Regions from separate parts of the Homo sapiens genome. Here region 1 is linked to region 2. Evidence: promoter capture Hi-C in human tissues and cell types (Jung and others, 2019). All regions are on one chromosome and are shown on one strand. Each heading gives the region's core, a stretch centred on a gene start or on the middle of the fragment in contact. The rest is flanking DNA. Distances are from core to core; before and after follow the strand shown.

Evidence for each region. Contacts are between HindIII fragments. The study calls those that stand out against the background at their distance.
Region 1: a contact is called between the fragment with the promoter of SMPD4 here and a fragment that was not itself captured in region 2, in 1 of the 25 tissues and cell types used here (dorsolateral prefrontal cortex).

What each region holds. Positions count from the first base shown.
Region 1 is chr2:130,180,304-130,183,003 of GRCh38, reverse strand. It overlaps SMPD4 (sphingomyelin phosphodiesterase 4), which reads left to right and starts at 1,402. Exons shown (of 20, transcript NM_017951.5): 1 at 1,402-1,474. MZT2B (mitotic spindle organizing protein 2B) reads right to left here and starts at 742. Exons shown (of 3, transcript NM_025029.5): 1 at 552-742; 2 at 229-377. The coding sequence starts at 721. RefSeq lists silencers at 487-996, 1,507-1,646 and an enhancer at 1,694-2,490. The HindIII fragment of the contact is 11,545 bases long and covers 1-2,700 here.
Region 2 is chr2:131,106,240-131,108,939 of GRCh38, reverse strand. All of the region lies in intron 1 of PLEKHB2 (pleckstrin homology domain containing B2), which reads right to left. Among named protein-coding and RNA genes, the nearest start is that of PLEKHB2, 2.3 kb to the right of the region's middle. The HindIII fragment of the contact is 3,190 bases long and covers 1-2,700 here.

The DNA.
Region 1 (2,700 bases), core at 153-2,652, 930 kb after region 2:
CCTGGACCACCCTGGGGTACGCACTCTGCGTCCACCTGACCTGGACGTGCCTCCTAAGGCTGGCAGCGAAGCCCAGGAGCAGAGCCCACGGATGGGCCCTGCAGGTGCTGGGCCTAGACCGACAGACAGGCCTGGCCACTCAGGGCCACGCCGCCGCTGTGCCGCGCCTGCCCCCTCCCCGCCCGCCACCCCCGCCACTGGGGCAGGGACAGCGGGCCCAGCTCTGACCTCGGGTCTCGGGCACGCTCGACGTGGGCAGAGACACGGCCGCAGGGTCCTGGGGCTCGCTCGCTAGCCTCTGCCCGGCACACATGGACTTGAGCATCTGGAAGACGGCGAGGGGGGCCACGTTCAGCTTCAGCAGGTCCACCAGGATCCTGGCGGGGACAGACGCGGGGCCGGTGAGCCCTCTCCGCCCGGCGCGGCCACCTCCCTGAAGACCCGACAAGGACGGGGGCGGGGGCTCCTCCCGACCAGCGGGCCGGGCGTACCCGGAAAGCAGAGGTCGGGGGGTGTCTGGCTAGCATGCGGCCCCCACCCGCCCCGCTCACTTGAACACGTCGGGGTCGATAGCGCCGCCCGCCGCCTGCGCCAGCTCGTACAGCTCCATCTCCTCGGTGCTCAGCACCTTCTTCCGCCGCAGCGCCAGCTTCTGCCGGGCCGCCTCCAGCCCCGGGGGCGCCGCCGACCCCGGCCCAGGCCCTACGCCCTGCGCCGCCATCCCCGCGGCCCGCGGAAAGGTGCGCTCCGCCCCGCCGCGCCCCCTAGCGGCTGCGCCCACCACCCTCTCCCTGCAGCGTCAACGTCTGGCCTCCCGGGCTGCCCTGGCGGGAGGGGCGGGAGCGCGGGGACGGGGCCGCCTCCGCGGCGTCATTGAAGCCCAACAGTTATTGGGCGCTCACGGTGTGCTGAGCGGCGCTCTAGGAGCCGGGAGTGGCATGGCGGACCGCAGGGGTCCGCTGCTTGGCGATCTGGGCCTCCCTGATAGACTGCATTGGTCGTGCTCGCTTAGGTGGCAGCACCCAGCCCAGTGCCAGGCATACATTGGGCGCTCGGTAAATGCCTCTTTCAAGAAAGCGTGCAATTTTCTGGTCCGCACCGGTGCACCACTAGGGGTCGCTTTTCGGGGCGGGCGGGGGGAAGGGGGGGGCACTAATCAACAATACTGCTTACGCGCACGCGGATTCCTTGCTGGGGAGAAAGTACCTTGGGGCGCCGGAGGCCGCCACAACGCAGGCGCATTCAGCTAAGGACCACTCCCTCCCCCGCACTCCTGCCTCGCCATTTCTCTTCCCCGCCCGGCCGGCCTTCGCTTTGCGCACGCGCCTTTTGAGGTAACGGCCCAAAGAGGTGGAAGCGCTTTTCCCGCCCGGCCGCGGGGCGTGGCTCTGCGCGCAGCTTGATGACGACTTTCGGCGCCGTGGCGGAATGGCGGCTTCCATCTCTGAGGCGAGCGACGCTATGGATCCCACAGGTGAGTGGCGCGGGATGCGCGCCTGAGACGGTCCGGCGCCCTGGGGGCTTCCCCGAGCCCCTGCGGAGGCCATCTCCGTTCCTCCGCGAGCCCCAGGACTCGGGCCGGCCAGCCGGCTCTGCCCAGGCAGGGCAGGCTGGGGAGTGGAGGGCCCCGGTTGAGTCTTCTGCCACCCCTCTGGGCCATGCCTTTGTGCCACCTTCCCGCGCGGCTCGTACACTCTGTCCCGGTCCGGTAGGTGTTCGCTGAAGGTTAACCTTCGTTGAAGGAATTGAGGGAAGGAGAGCTTTGTGTTGAAGTTGAGCCTTGGGCTCAACAGGCGGTGTGGGTGTAAGAGCCGGGTGTGGGTCCCAGCTCGACCCTTCCCCTGTGTGCTCCACATCTCCGAGCCTTGGTTTTGGAGGCTCCCGAAGCCCAATTGGCAGGAGAGTTGGGAACAAGTGGGCGCGTGCTGTTAAGGGAGGTCTTGGCATGACAGAATTTGCTTGGAATGATTAGCGTTGCCCAAGGGCTGTCGCTGTCAGAAAAACAAAACAAAACAAAAAACAAACGGGGTCCGAAGCAGCTCCTGGAGAAAATAGGTGTTGGAGAGTCGCCATGAAGTGGACTCTAGGTGCATGGCACGCAGAGACCTGTGACGGGGGAGGGTGGCCATGGCAGAGTCAGATAACAGGGGTGTGGGAGACACCTCTTGGGAATTCTCGGGTTTGAATTTCCTTTCTTGGAAATTTCCTAGAAATTCCTCTGGGCCTCATTCTTTCAGTCGCTGCCCATGAAAGCTTCTTCTGAGCAGAGATGCTCTCCCCTTCATCGTCTCTAGAGCTCCGCACTTACCGAACAGTCCACAGTTTAATGCTGCTTTGATCATTTTGTAGTAGTGCAGCGTTTTCTTGACCAAGTGCCTTAGGACTGAGGCGTTTTTCTTTAACACTGCAGTTGATAGCTAGGTTAAGAATTGAGGCCGGGAGCGGTGACTCACGCCTGTAATCCCAGCACTTTGGGAGGCCCAGGCGGGTGGATCACGAGGTCAGGAGTTCAAGACCAGCCTGGCCAAGATGGTGAAACCTCGTCTCTAGTAAAAAATACAAAAATTAGCCGGGCGTGGTAGCGGGCGCCTGTAATCCCAGCCACTTGGGAGGCTGAGTAAGAGAATTGCTTGCACCCGCGAGGCGGAGGTTGCAGTGAGCTGAGATCGCGCCACTGCACTCCAGCCTGTGCGACAGAGC
Region 2 (2,700 bases), core at 70-2,569:
GATCTATAAAACGAAAATTCCCACCACCTACTTGACAGGATGTTCGGAAAATTGGGTGAAATAATATGTAAGTAGTTGGCATGGTGCCTCACAGTTACTAGAACTCGATAAATGGTAGCTGCTTTGACAGCAATTATTACTATTTACTACTATTATTACTATTACTTATTTTCCCCCTTACCAAAATTTGCCGAAAATATTCTAGAACAAGCTTGTCCAACTCATGGCCCCAGCCCAGGTCAGCTTTGAATGCAGCCCAACACAAATTTGTAAACTTTCTTAAAACGTTATGAGATTTTTTTGCAATTTTATTTTTTAGTGCATCAGCTATCATTAGGGTTAGTGTATTTTATGTATGGCCTTCTTCCAATGTGGCCCAAGAAAGTCTAAAGATTGGACAGCCCTGTTCTAAGAACAAGGACATCAAGCTGCTTCTCAAATGGCTCAGAAGACTTCTGTTTGATTGCCTTAGCATGCTGAATTTCACACCACTCCATAACTTAATTCAACATTTCACTATTTATATCCTGGAGCAAAACTGAATGCATAAACTAAAACTCATCAGATAAACACTAAGCCCTAGCTGTTGGTCTCTAGAGAATAAAACACCAGCAAACTAGCTGCAAAAGAACATTATTTTTATGCCAATAAAACCTATGCAAAGCTTTAAAATGTAAGCCATATTCAACAATTTAAATTATTTTAAATTTGAATTTGTATCTCTTTGAAAGCATTGAATCGAAACAGACAACAGATGGACAAAAAATACTGCCTTTGGAATCTGACAGTTCTAAGCCTGAAGCCTACTTTGCCTTCTACTCACTAGTATGACCTTCAGCAAAATTCTAAACCTCTCTAAGCCTCAGTTTTCTTACCTGTATGACCAGGCACAACCAATTACGTCATGGGGTTACTGTGACAATTAAAGGAGGTATGTCCAAACAGCCCTGTAGTAGATGGTCCAAAAGTGAGAATTGGCCAGGCGCGTTGGCTCACGCCTATAATCCCAACACTTTGGGAGGCCAAGGCAGGCGGATCACCTGAGGTCAGGAGTTCGAGACCAGCCTGACCAACATAGTGAAACCCCATCTCTATTAAAAATACAAAAAATTAGCCGAGCATGGTGGCGCACGCCTGTAATCCCAGCTATTTGGGGGGCAGAGGCAGGGGACTCCCTTGAACCCGGGAAGCGGAGGTTGCAGTGAGCCGAGACTGCGCCATCGCACTCCAGCCTAAGCAACAGGAGTGAAACTCCGTCTCAAAAAAATAAAAAATAAAAAAGTGAGAACTGCTACAATTACATTACTATTTTGTTCCAAAAGCTAGAATTCAGGTTTAACTGTCTACAACTCCTCATGATATCCCAGTTCTCCAGCTCTCTTTCGCTATAAAAGTGGCTTCCTTATGAAAAAGGAAGAAAACTCATCTCTGTTCTTCAAGGGCAACAGTGGAGAGTCAAAGAGATGTCACAGGTACATTCTGAAACAGAAGGGAAAGAAGGTTGGGTGACCCATCAACATGTAGAGGTCAGTTCCCACGTGGCATTGGCCATTTCCAGTTGGGAACCACTTCTTAACAACAAGCCTAATACAAGCACCATCAAAGGGCAGACAGGCAAAGAAAGCAAAGAGGCAAGGAAGTCCAACTTTCCGTTTCCATGATCCACTGTGGAAGCAAATATATAACTAACAAAACAACTGGGTCAATTAGCCCCCACTTTGGGAGCATTTTTAACAGTGTGTTTTGCAGTTTTTGGTAGTTACTGTTATTAATAAGGTAATTCTTTAATTTCTTTAGACAAACAGTAAGAAGGCAGGCAGAGGAAAGGAGAAACAAAAATATTAATGCAAGCTGAAAAGCATAAGCAAAGCTTTCAGAAAGAGCTGAGAGAAACCTCCACCTTCCCAAGGAGTAACACCACAAGAGTATCTGTCCTCTCTATACCACTGCTGTACACATTTAATCAACTCAGTCCTTGAGAATAGCAGGAAATTTACTTACAGAATGTACCACCGCCTTTAAAATATAATGCTAGCAAAGAACCGCTGTCAGGTTCTGAGTTCTTTTCTGCAGCCTTCTTCAATAAGCATTTACTGACCACCTACAAAGTGCCAAACACTATGCTGTTTATTAGGGAAACCCTGCAACACAGTTTGATTCCTGTCCTCAGGGAGATCAGTACGAATAGGGAAGAGTCGAGTAAAGAGATCACCACCACAGAGAGTAAACACCAGGCACAAAGGAAGCCCAGACAAGCTCCAGTCCTATCAATATCCAGCCAACCAGCCCAGGGTTAGGAACTTTCTGAACCTAGGGAACACTCCTGAGCACCACAATTGAACCGTCACAGCAGTATTCCCACACCCCCACAGGTCCTTAGGCAGACACACCCACTGCATGGGCACAGACGCACAGCTGTGTCTGTGCATACATGTTTTGGTCATTAGTTTAGTCAACAAATACTGAGGGCCACACTAAACAGGCAGTTACCAGTGCCAGCTCGGGTCCTAATTCCTCATGTGACTTCGGACAAGTCACTTCCTGAATTGGTACTGGTTCATACCAAAGGCCACAGAAGACCTTGGAATATTCCTCCCCTCAGCTGTCAGCCCTCCTCCCTCGGTGGTGGTTCCACCCTTTCCTAAGCACTAAAAATTTAAAGGCTGAGACCATGAGTCAGTATTATTTTGAATTAACCAT